3 separate regions of the Homo sapiens genome follow, and regions 1 and 3 are each linked to region 2. Evidence: promoter capture Hi-C in 16 types of primary human blood cells and fetal thymus (Javierre and others, 2016). All regions are on one chromosome and are shown on one strand. The core of a region is centred on a gene start or on the middle of the fragment in contact, and the rest is flanking DNA. Distances in the headings are between cores, read along the strand shown. Region 1 overlaps NABP1 (nucleic acid binding protein 1). Region 2 holds the start of LINC01827 (long intergenic non-protein coding RNA 1827). Region 3 has its middle 15 kb from the start of NABP1.

Evidence for each region. The method cuts DNA at HindIII sites, captures the fragments that hold promoters and counts their contacts. A CHiCAGO score of 5 or more calls a contact.
Region 1: a contact is called between a fragment that was not itself captured here and the fragment with the promoter of LINC01827 in region 2, in 2 of 17 cell types (non-activated CD4 T cells and M2 macrophages). The highest score is 5.2, in non-activated CD4 T cells.
Region 3: a contact is called between a fragment that was not itself captured here and the fragment with the promoter of LINC01827 in region 2, in 1 of 17 cell types (M0 macrophages). The highest score is 6.6, in M0 macrophages.

The regions. Positions count from the first base shown.
Region 1 is chr2:191,679,506-191,683,478 of GRCh38, forward strand. It overlaps NABP1 (nucleic acid binding protein 1), which reads left to right. Exons shown (of 6, transcript NM_001031716.5): 3 at 2,441-2,512. Among named protein-coding and RNA genes, the nearest start is that of NABP1, 3.4 kb to the left of the region's middle. RefSeq lists an enhancer at 1-1,001. The HindIII fragment of the contact is 1,225 bases long and covers 705-1,929 here.
Region 2 is chr2:195,572,308-195,576,506 of GRCh38, forward strand. LINC01827 (long intergenic non-protein coding RNA 1827) reads right to left here and starts at 2,186. Exons shown (of 2, transcript NR_187191.1): 1 at 2,017-2,186. The HindIII fragment of the contact is 2,770 bases long and covers 1,044-3,813 here.
Region 3 is chr2:191,660,824-191,664,853 of GRCh38, forward strand. No RefSeq gene overlaps it. Among named protein-coding and RNA genes, the nearest start is that of NABP1, 15 kb to the right of the region's middle. The HindIII fragment of the contact is 2,932 bases long and covers 822-3,753 here.

The DNA.
Region 1 (3,973 bases), core at 67-2,566, 3.9 Mb before region 2:
AGCTGGGACTACAGGCGTGTGCCACCACGCCCAGCTAAGTTTTGTATTTTTAGCAGAGACGGGGTTTCAGAGTGTTGCCCAGGCTGGTCTCCAACTCCTGACCTCAAGTGATCCGCGCGCCCCAACCTCCCAAAGTGCTGGGATTACAGGCGTGAGCCACCACGCCCGGCATAGATTTTTAGTTCTATTCTGAGTCAGTGAGTCTTTTTAGGAGACTGGTATAGTCCATATTTTTTCTTTTTTATAAGTTGTTTTCTCTAGTGTAGTTGCCACTCAGTTGTTTCCCACCCCTTCTCCATTTTTAATGACTTGAAATCCTGGCCAGTATTTTACATATGTTATTTAGAAATGTGGACATAAATGAAAATTATAGGTAAAGGATTTAGCATATTCTGTGATATGTCAAATTTGTACTTGGAAAAAGAGGGAAACTTTACAGTATCTGGAAGGCTCATTCTCCAAAATGATTTCTTGTGTCTTCTGCTGTAAGGTGGATGTTGCGCAAAAACCAAAGGGATACACAGAAAATGTTTGGCAGAAAGGCATCTACAATACCTTCATCCAAAAGAGTCAGTTGGCGGATAGGTGGCTTTAAAAAATACTAGAACTTTTTTTTTAAAAAATAGATTGCTTTTAGAAATTTACCAAATTTTTATCTTAGGAAGATAAAAGGGCAGAAAAGGATCTTAAAAACAGAATTTGGAAGCTTTTGAGATCAATAAAATTGTAATAATTTATCATTAACTGCAGGGAAAGTGGTGGAGATTGATGTTGGCCTAATAAGTAGAATCTTAGAAGTATTGGAAAGCACTGAGAGTAGGAGCTTAGAGCTCCTTGGTGTTACCTTGCAGGCTTACAACATCTTCAGGAAGTGAGGTAAAGTGTCATCAAAGCAGGAAGTGAGAGTCAGGACTTAGACATTTTCTTCTCATACACTGACTCATGACAGTAATTTAAACTTCCACATCTTTAAAAAACAAAAGAGAATTCCTTCTTAGGGAAGTATGGTGAGGATTGATTAGTATAATTGGAGTTTTTGGCTCCCCAAATATTTTTCACCCAATGATTGAAAGTATTTTTTACGCTAAAAACGGCATCTTATTTCAAGTATTTCATGTTCTGTAGTGACAGTCATAGGTGTTTCCATCAAAAAAATTATTGGAAAATTAAACTTATTAGTTAGGTACTATAGAATTTTAAGGGGAACAATTACCTGGGAGTACAATTTAAACGAAAATTAAAAACTATAGAAACTCTATTTACTACTTCAGTATGACCTTGAGAAGTTACTACACCTCATACTTCAGCTTCCTCTTCTGTGAAATGGGAATAATTATACCTTATTTACCAAAACAACACACTCAGCTTGGAGTCTGGCTCATTCTAAGGCCCTTAAATTCTGGTTGAATCTAAGAAAAGTAGCTTTTGAAGAAAAACATACCTAACATCTAAATAATGGTTCAAATATCAACATGTTTATCAGAATACCCTGAAAACTTACCTCAGTGTTCTCATTTCTTAAAGTGAATGTTAAATATTTTAATTGTAACCAAATTTTTTCTCAAAATATGGGTTAATTTTTATTTTAGTAAGGTGAAATGTTAATGCACTGTATCCTAAGCCACTCTTTGTATAACTTAAGAGTGGTGAATGGTGTCTTTAATAAATAACCCTTTAATTAAAGTAAAGAGAACTGTATAGTAAGTTAAAGTCATGAAGTTACCATAGTAGTTGTACAGAGAACCATTGAGAACCAAACCTTGGATTGATTTTATAATATTAATTTACCTTTTTCTTAGATATCTAGGATTATTTTATGTAGTGATGCTGTCTGCTTTCAAAATTGTTCGGAGTAAACATTTGCCAGTTTGTTTACTACAAACCCAGCATGGTATTAAAAATCACATGTTTGGAAAGGCAGATAGGTGAAGCTTTGTGACCTTAGTGTTTTTTTTAGCACTTTGAAATTCTACCAGATCTTCGGTAGCTTAGGAATCCTGTGTCTTTTATGGAGGCAGAAGGAAAACTGTTATATCATTATTTGACTAGACTGTAAATGAAACATTAGGATGATTTTACATATCTTGTGGCTGAAAAATAGTTTCTGTTTAAATTTCTGCAATTAAAAGCTTTTGTTTTGTTAATTGACTAAAGATGTGATCATTGGGTATAATAATACTGGCTTTGCGAAAAGACTTATTTTCCAGAATTTGTTATGATTTAGATAATTATGTCAAAATTCGACAGAATTTTTGTATTCTTTTGTAAATAGCAAGTTATCAAAGTTAGATTTATTGTATTTGATTTACTATGGTGGATAGAGAGGGCTTGATCCTCACTTCTACCTTAATACAAAAAATATATAGTGTGAAGATTTACTTGATTTAAATAGAAGAAAATAAATATATTTCTAAAGAATTAATGTTTCTTTTCTCTCTAGGTATGCATCCATGTGGAAAGGATGTCTGACACTTTATACTGGAAGGGGTGGTGAACTTCAAAAAATTGGGGAGTAAGTATTAAAATGCATTTTGTATAATTGCATATATTATAAATAATATCTACGGAATGATTGGTAGGTATGAATTGTAAACCTCTTTGGCTTTTTTGACTAGTAAACTGAATGTCTTTGGTAGCTTAATTGAAAAAATAACTTCGTGTATACAAATTTAACACTTGTCAGTACTGTTTTCTGTGGTTAAAAGTGTCAATTTTTCCTGGCAAAGAGCAGTAGAAGAAGCTGCAGTTGAGACCAGCCCTAGTGGAAGCATTTCTGTAGGTTTTAGAAATGTGCATTTTTTAGGTGTCACAAGAGCCATTTGAAGTAGATTCTCTTTTGTAGTGATTCACCATATACGAAGCTAGTGATTCACCAAGTTTCAGGCCATAAGTTTAAATTTTCTTTTTCTATGGTTATGGGTGAATATGTACTCATGTTAAAAAGGACTTGCAGCAACGAAAACTGAAGTCCTCTATTTATCCACAGTCTAGGTGCGGTGCAGGCAGCCGCAATGCGAGATTCCATACACTACTACCCTGGTAATGATCTCCACCCTGACCTGGAGGAGCCATCCTCTCTAGGGGTGTAAGGTAATTCAGCCTCCATGTTAGCCTAGACATTGGGTTGTATTCATAAAGTATGGTACAGGCAATGAGCCAAATCATCAGTCCATTCTGTTTGGTTAATGCTCTGCCATCTACTTAATGCCTGTCAAATTGGAAGATATTTAAAAAGAGAAGCCACAAATGGCACCAGATAAAAAAGGAAAACTGTTTGCCACTGAGGGAATAAGATGCTTATTTGGAGAACCTGTGGTTAATAATGAAGGAAAAGAAATGATCATGCTAGCTTTTAAAGATCAGAAACACTTAACGCTTTGCCTTTGTTAGAAGGGAAGTTAGGATTCACTTAGAGTAGCATTAATAGAGTTATGTGTTATGAAAGGTCTTAGTGTCTGTTACTGAAAGGTTCAGGATTCTGTCCTGACCTTCATGTATTCATACAGAGGTGTTGATAATAATGGAGGTCAGTTACGTGAAAAACCGTTAGAGGTCACTCATTTCTTAATGACTGCTCTTTGTCAGGGTCAGTCGAGGATTTACCAAAACTGGTTCTGATTTGTCTTCAGTATGGTGAGGAGTAATAAAATGCTTCTTTGTAATGTTAGTACACATTATATGGTCAACTTACAGGAAGCACTTGGATAAACTGGTGGCTATGTAGCCTGTTGTTATTATTTATTGCCTAGAAACCACTCTTAACCCTAAATGATTATCTTTGCAGATCCACAGTGATCGATCAAAAGAGGGACTGAATGGGAGTGGGTGAATGGATCGGTGCAAATCCATTACCACTGCTGGAGAAACCACCCTGGAACCCTAAACATGGTTCACTCTCATGTTATTTTTCCTTTGATCAGCTTTTGTGGAAAAACAGGACAGAGATGTTTTTGTGTCCTTGATTTTTGATGTG
Region 2 (4,199 bases), core at 936-3,435:
ACTTAGGGAGCCAGGAAATTCAAGGGATTGCTTTGTCTCCTAAGACCTAGAAAATCATTAATCTCACTCAAATTTAAGAGTTCAGTTACAAGTAAAAGGAAATCCAATCAAACAACTTAAACAACCAAGGGAATGTATTGGCCGATGTGACTGACGAACCAAAAACTGGGCAGATTTTAACAAAACCAGTAGTCCCATAATGTCAATAAAGACCTGCTTTCTTTCCACTGCTGCACTCTATCTCCTGTGAAGCAGTTTTCGTCTTAGGCTGCGTCTTCTAGTGTAGTCAGAAGCAACCACAGTTACATGCTTCCTAGTTCATATCTACAAAAGCAGAGAGTACCTTTGAAGCAACTCCCATGGATCAGACAAGAATTTTCTTTTCCAAAAACTTCAGCAATTGGCTGGCAGTGGTGACTCAGGCCTTTCACCCTAGCACTTTGGGAGGCTGAAGTGGGCAGAACACTTGAGCTCAGGAGTTAGAGACCAACCTGGGCAACATAGGGAGACCCTATATCTACAAAACATCAAAAAAATTAGCCGGGTATGGTGGCCCCCTCCTGTGGTCCCAACTTCTTGGGAGGCTGAGGTGGGAGGACCACTTGAGCCCAGGAGATCGAAACTGCACTGAGCCATGATCCCGCCATTGCCCGTCAGCCTGGATGACAGAGCGAAACCCAGTCTCAAAAACAAAAAAAAAAAAACAAACAAAACTCCAGCAACTGTCTCCTTTATTGTCCATTAATGGTTCACATGCCTACTCTGAATCAGTCACATGGACAGAATGATGTAATAATGCTGATTAGTGTAAGACAAACAGGTTCTCTGGAGGTGGGCAATCCAGCCCAAGCCATGCTCAAAAACATACTGTTTGTTTAAAGTAGAAAAGGCTCTGGATGGTGAGAAGGGATTTTACAAATGTCAGTGTAAGCTCTTGCTACTGCTTCTCTCTGCATGTCTATTCTAGGTTGCTCTTGTAGGCTGGCTCCACATGTAAGGATTTTACTTTGGGTTCCCTCATAATTTAATGTTCATGTAGCTGAAGCTTGCCATAGAGGTCTCACACTAAATACCTGTGACCCGACAACTCCAATTCTCATCACTTAACTATGACTTTTGTGTCTCAGTGAAATTTTTTCAAACAATATCATCTAGTTGGCTTGGCCTAACCTATGGATCGACTCTCAGAGTAGGTCTCCCCACCCTGGTCCAATCATCATAACCAGGGAGTAGGGTCATATGATATAAACATAGATGACTAGGCCCATCTGTTCAGCAGGGGAACAGATTCTTTTAGAAGGGAATGTGGGCAGAAAGGCAATTATATACATCTCTAACCAGAAAAATCCCAGGGGTGGAAATGATAGGAAGAAATGGCACCAAATTTAAAGATAAAAGAAAAGCTGCCACTGTAATTCAAAATTAGACAATGTAACTGATCATAGACTTTTGCTATAATCGCTATTTTGGCCTTATAATCTCTGAAATTTACTTTACAGAACAGTGAAACACTTCTTTGAGGAGAAACATTATAGAAGAAAACAATCTTTGATCTAGAAACCTAAAAAGATATTTATGCTCATTATATTCCAGGTGCTGAAGAGTGTCAAAGCACAGCTAAATATTATGCCATTTGTGCAGACTCGGAATGAGTTTAAGCACTGAAAGAGCTACCAGAATACCCCAGCAGAACATCTCAAAACAAAGCATTATTTCTCTCTTAAGAAAATTACCAGGCTGGGCACGGTGGCTCACACCTGTAATCTCAGCACTTTGGGAGGACGAGGCAGGCGGATCTACCTGAGGTGAGGGGTTCGAGACCAGCCTGCCCAATGCGGTGAAACCCCGTCTCTACTAAAACTAAAAAAAATAGCTGGGTGTGGTGGCGGGCACCTGTAATCCCAGCTACTCAGGAGGCTGAAGCAGGGAGAATTGCAGTGAGCCGGATTGCACCACTGCACTCCAGCCTGGGCGACAGAGTGAGACTCCATCTCAAAAAAAAAAAGGGAAAATTACCTATTTGCACTTCTTGATTTCCAGGAAGGTGTTAGAGATCTTCATCCCATCCCCAGCCCAAGTCTAGACGTGTTCACCGGAAAGGAAGAAGTTTTTGAGTTCTCAGCAGTAGCTGTGGCTCTAAGGAAAGCAGTGTTGTATGGGTATTAGAGTAGTACAACCAAAGCTCTGCTGGAACAAAAGAGGAACACAGAAAGCTAGGAATGACAAGTGTTTTTCTTCCCTCTCATATGATTCAGTCAGGCTGTCTTTGACCTACATAGCCATCTGACTGGCCACTGTTTTCTTTTCTTTCTTTTCTTTTTTTAGAGATGGGATCTTGCTGTGTTGCCCAGGCTGGACTGAAACTCCTGGGTTCCAGTGATGCTCTCTCCTGAGCTTCCCGAGCAGCTGGGACCACAGGCATACACCACTGCACTGCACTGCACTTGATTAGGTATATTTTAAAATGTAAAATAATAGTGAAAGGATTCTCCCTAGTCCCCATAAACCTGGGAATGGATCGAGGTGAGGACACCAAAACTTTCCCCTGAGACATGGAAATTGCACTGAATGTTTCTTGATGGTTCTAATGCATTAAGAATTAAGAGCTCTTTGCCTAGATTACCCCCAAAATATTAAAAATAACAAAACAAAGTAGAACTAAGGAAAAATATAAGACACATAGAGAAAATGTTTTTCAAAAAATGTTATTTGACCTATGGCTAATTCTGATTTTAAAAGCAGTTAAACAAACGAAACACAACCTAGTGATGCTTACGACTGAAGAAACCATTGATACCTGAAAGAAGGGAAGACTTTAGATATAAAGGCAGAGTGGAATTTTTTTAACCAACATTTCATGCAGCAGCTCCACATGGCCTTCCCATGTCTCAATAGCTTTGATTTGTGGAAATAATGGTTATGCAATTTCCACATATTGTGCTCCAATCACAGCATGTAAGCAACAATAAAAAGAAAACAACTAAATGTACTTGAAGCTGGAGATTTTGATAAGGTTTTCTTTTCACTTCACAAAGTTTGTTAACTGGATATTTTTCTAAGGCAACTGAAATATTCCTGCTGAGTTTCAGACAGATATATGTAAAAGCAGCAAAGTGTCTGATTTTCTTAAATGTATCTATGGCAGCAACACTAGTTAATTTAGTTGTGAAAAAATAACCAAAAAGAAACTATCGGACTATAAGAATTCCACAGTTGGCAGACTGTTGGTATTTCTCTTTCTCTTTAAATATATATATAAATATATCTATAAATATATATAAATATCTATAAATATATCTATAAATATATATATTAAATATATATATGCCATCTGTTTACAAAAGATGAGAAATGTTGGAGAAAATTATTTCCCTTAGGGTATAATGTTATGGCCATTCAGAGAGAGGTCTCTGGTATTTTCAAGGAGAATTTGGTACAAGAACAAGACAGCATCAGGTCTGCACAGTCATTGGCTGCAAAAAACAAAGATGATTTCCTTTAGTCCCTGTTTTAGTTTTACTCTTTGAACTTCCAAGTTTATTTATTGTTATTATTTTTAATGTGGCACAGATTGTTTTAAGAATCAACTTGGTTCCCTTTTTTGAAGTCCTTTTTTTTTTTTAATTTGTTGAGACTGGTTTCTAAAGTGCTCCACCTCCACCACCTGTCATTAGATGGGGGGCTGCGGCTTGGAGAACACTCACAGTTCTGAGTTCAGCTGTGGACGGAATAATGAAGGGCAGCTGCAGAAGGAGGTAGAGCTGCAGATTCAGAGGTAGGTGGCAATACAGTATTTCAAAATAAAAACTACCAAGCTTCAGATCGGTGATAAATTGTCATGCACTAAGTGTACCTGGAGAAATAAAACTAATCTCTATCCATTTTAATTCTCTCAGAAGGACTTTCCCTCTTACATATAAAATCCTGGGAATTTCCCCCTCCTCATCCAGTCATTTCTATGTGATTAATCATACATTGGTTACTCGTCACTAGATGGCATTGTGCAATGTTTCTTGACAGCAGTAACTAAATTGGTAAAGTTACAGCTTGGGCTATTTTTTGGTATTTTCTTCTTTGGGATGGATCTAGAGGATCTAAATCTGATCCTGGATATGTCATCATCTTTATATGTTTTATGAGTATGGCTTTGTAAAATTTGTGTCTTCTTTGAGAGTCTTTTTCTTAGTATAACTTCCTAG
Region 3 (4,030 bases), core at 1,038-3,537, 3.9 Mb before region 2:
AGCCTTAGGTTATTTGGCAAGCAAGTTTGGGGCTATAATTTGCTGATCCCTGTTTAAATCTTTTTTTTTTTTTTTTAAATTTTAATCTTCAAGCAGATCACTCCATTTTAGGGATGAATTCCAGGATAGCTTACATTTAGTTAGAACTGTTTGTAGCTAGTGATGTGATCACATGGTCTTTTATATCAAGTGGTAGAGGCACAGACTTTGGAGCTGGAGAAACATGGTTGGAATTTCAGCTCTCCTCAGCAATAGGTGTGCAGCCTGGAGCTTCCTTCTCCAAGCTTCCTTTTCTCATCTGTGGAATGTGGATGATGACCTCTATGATAGAAGGGTGCTGTGATGATTAAATGAGAGCGTATGTTAAGAGCCTGGCACAAAGAAAATGTTCAAAAAATATTGGTTTCCTTCTCTAACTCTGCAACAACATTCTCTCTACACACATGTGAGAACTGGCCAACACCTCAACCTCATCAACACACATTTGCAAGCCCTCTCTCAGATGGCTGACCTAGGAAATTCAAAATTAATTCAAATGAGCTTGAATTTCACGGTCCTATTTTTAAAAATCTCTTTTCAGTTTTGGGGAATCCATTTTGTGTAGTTCAGTTCTTGCAACCTCTTGCATGTTGAAAACAATAGCCACCACAACCACAATATGTGATGAAAGCATTTAACCAAAGGCCTTGATTCTGATAACTCTCAGGGAGATAAAGGAAACCTATACACTATCAGATTTTAAAGGGTCACTACTCAAAAGAAATCACATGGAAATAGTAACAAATTTAGATTTTATTTGATGTTTGCCATGACCATGTCTAAGCTTTTAGAATTGGTTTTATTATAAAATTGCTTGGGGAATTCACTTTCAGTGTCATAGTAGTGGGTTGTGAAATCAATATTACTTGAAATATTTCCCCTTTGAAAAGTTTAACTTAAAAATATGCATACACATGTAAGCCACTAGAGGTAGAAAGTACTTTCACAGCAGGAGAATAATTGTGTGTGTTTACTTACTTGTATAAACATACTTAGACACTATAGAGTTAAATATATTTAGCATCAGACTTTTTAAGTTGGGGGATATTTAAGTTCTGCCATAATTTTTAAGAAAATAATTTGCTTCCTCACTAGGGAAATTGTTATAATCAATGCTAACACAGCTATTTAACATGAGTAAAGTAACGGTATCTTCAAAGAACTAGGGTGTACAAAAGCAATATAATTTGGAGAAATAAAAAGTACCCCAATAGATGAGAGATATTATTGTCTCAAGCATGAGAATTGAAAATTGGGTGTCTTGGTCATGGAGCCTTGTCCTTGATTCCTGGTGTCATAACTCTTCAATATGTGATTCATTGGATTTGTTTCTTGGTTCGTTCATCCATTCATTTCCTTGATACACATTTAGTAAAGACTTACCACTTGTGAAGCACTATGCTAAGTGCTAGGAACATAATTTATTCTGAGACAGACACATAAATTGTCAATTACAATATGTTTTATATGTGCTACTATAGAAATATGTACCAAGAACTGAGAGTAGTCCAGAAATAAAGATTCATTCTAAAGGGGCTAGACAAGACTGTATGGGGAAGAAATGGTCAGAGAGGCTTCATCGAGAATGCAAATGACTCGAGCTGGGTAAAGAAGCTCTTCAGAGTTTTTTGAGAATGACAAGGCCAAGAATTCTAAACAGGGTAAACTACATGATCAAAATCAAAGAAGCATAGAAGTGCACTTTGAATGTACTTGTGAGTAGTTTGATGTAGCTGGAGCAGGGGCTTTATGGAGTGGGGTGAGGGGAGGTTTTATGCCATACTATAAATCTTGGTCCTTTATCCAGTTGGCCAGTGATCCTTTGGCTACAATTCTAGTTTTTCTCTATAACATCTATATTTCAATGGCTAAAACCCTAGGTGTATTAGTGAAGTGTTTTTAGGTTTCAAGGAGCACAAATATGCCTCTGACTTTCGGTGATTTCAACTTATTCTAAGGATATGAGTACATTAGGAAGCAAGTATAGGAAACATTTTAATGGAATAATCAGGCCTCATGTGAAGCTGAAGCATTGTTCATTGATCTCCAGAATCATATATTAATAGCAACTCTGATATCCTAACAGCAATAATAGGGGTTGTCGTCCCACTGACTTCTCTCCTTGCTTCTTCCTCCTTCTGTTACTATTGTACTCTCTCTGTCTCAGTTTATCTGGTTCATGGTTTCTATTTACTCATTGCATCTACTAACTTATGAGCCTGGTTAGTCTCTGCTTAGTTTCCTGATTCCTACTCCACTTTGCTTTGTGCCTCCCTCCCTGTGTACTTTTGTTCAGGAAAGAATTAGCAATAGGCCCAAGACTGCTATTCCTAGAAATCTCCTTGCAAGGTTGGCTATTGATGGGTATCTGGAAATGTAGGTTTCAGCAGGGTTCTGGCCATTCCCTAAATGATAAGAGTGGCCCACTGTGTCTAAACTGTTAGTATAAACAGCATAGTTTATGCTCACCACCATGCTTTCCTTCTGGCAGTCAGGGCTTTGGTATATGCCAGGAAAAGGGTGCCTCTGTGACAAGCCCTCAATAAAAACCTTGAGCTTCCCTGGTAGGCAGTATTTCATACTGGTTGCCACACTTGATGTAGAGGACTAAAGTGCCTCTTTTTATTATTATTATTATTCTACTTTAAGTTTTAGGGTACATGTGCACAATGTGCAGGTTAGTTACATATGTATACATATGACATGCTGGTGCGCTGCACCCACTAACTCGTCATCTAGCATTAGGTATATCTCCCAATGCTATCCCTCCCCCCTCCCCCCACCCCACAACAGTCCCCAGAGTGTGATGTTCCCCTTCCTGTGTCCATGTGTTCTCATTGTTCAATTCCCACCTATGAGTGAGAATATGCAGTGTTTGGTTTTTTGTTCTTGCGATAGTTTACTGAGAATGATGATTTCCAACTTCATCCATGTCCCTACAAAGGACATGAACTCATCATTTTTTATGGCTGCATAGTATTCCATGGTGTATATGTGCCACATTTTCTTAATCCAGTCTATCATTGTTGGACATTTGGGTTGGTTCCAAGTCTGCTATTGTAAATAGTGCCGCAATAAACATGTGTGCATGTGTCGTTATAGCAGCATGATTTATAGTCCTTTGGGTATATACCCAGTAATGGGATGGCTGGGTCAAATGGTATTTCTAGTTCTAGATCCCTGAGGAATCGCCACACTGACTTCCACAATGGTTGAACTAGTTTACAGTCCCACCAACAGTGTAAAAGTGTTCCTATTTCTCCACATCCTCTCCAGCACCTGTTGTTTCCTGACTTTTTAATGATCGCCATTCTAACTGGTGTGAGATGATATCTCATTGTGGTTTTGATTTGCATTTCTCTGATGGCCAGTGATGGTGAGCATTTTTTCATGTGTTTTTTGGCTGCATAAATGTCTTCTTTTGAGAAGTGTCTGTTCATGTCTGTTAAAGTGCCTCTTGTGTGACTCCACTAGGAGAGGACCCTTAGAGGCTTGCAACTGGTTTCTTCAGACTTTGCCTTATATGCCTTTCCCTTTGCTGAATTTGCTCTGTATCCTGTCACTGTCACGGCTATAAGTAGGACTATATGTTGAGTCCTGTGAGTCCTCCTAGCAAATCATTGAACCTGGTAGGTGGTCTTGAGGACCCCTACACAGCTTTGCTTTGGGATTCTTAGAATATCTTATTCACAGCACATTACCTGGCCTTTACTAAGCTTGATCCCTGGCTATCTCTTCATTCTCATCTGATACCCCTCTTCTCATTCTAATTATGCTGGATTCCTTGTTGTTCCTCAAACTTTCCAAGAATGCTCCTGCTTTGAAACTTTGTGTTTGCATTTCCCTCTGCCTGTGCTTTCTTTTCACAGATATCTACGTGATTTGTTCCCTCACCTCCTTCATATCTTCATTCTTATCTACTCTTTTTTCCATAGTAATAGAACCACTGATTTTTGGCTGGGGACACAGCCACCAGAAAGCCACCTTCCTG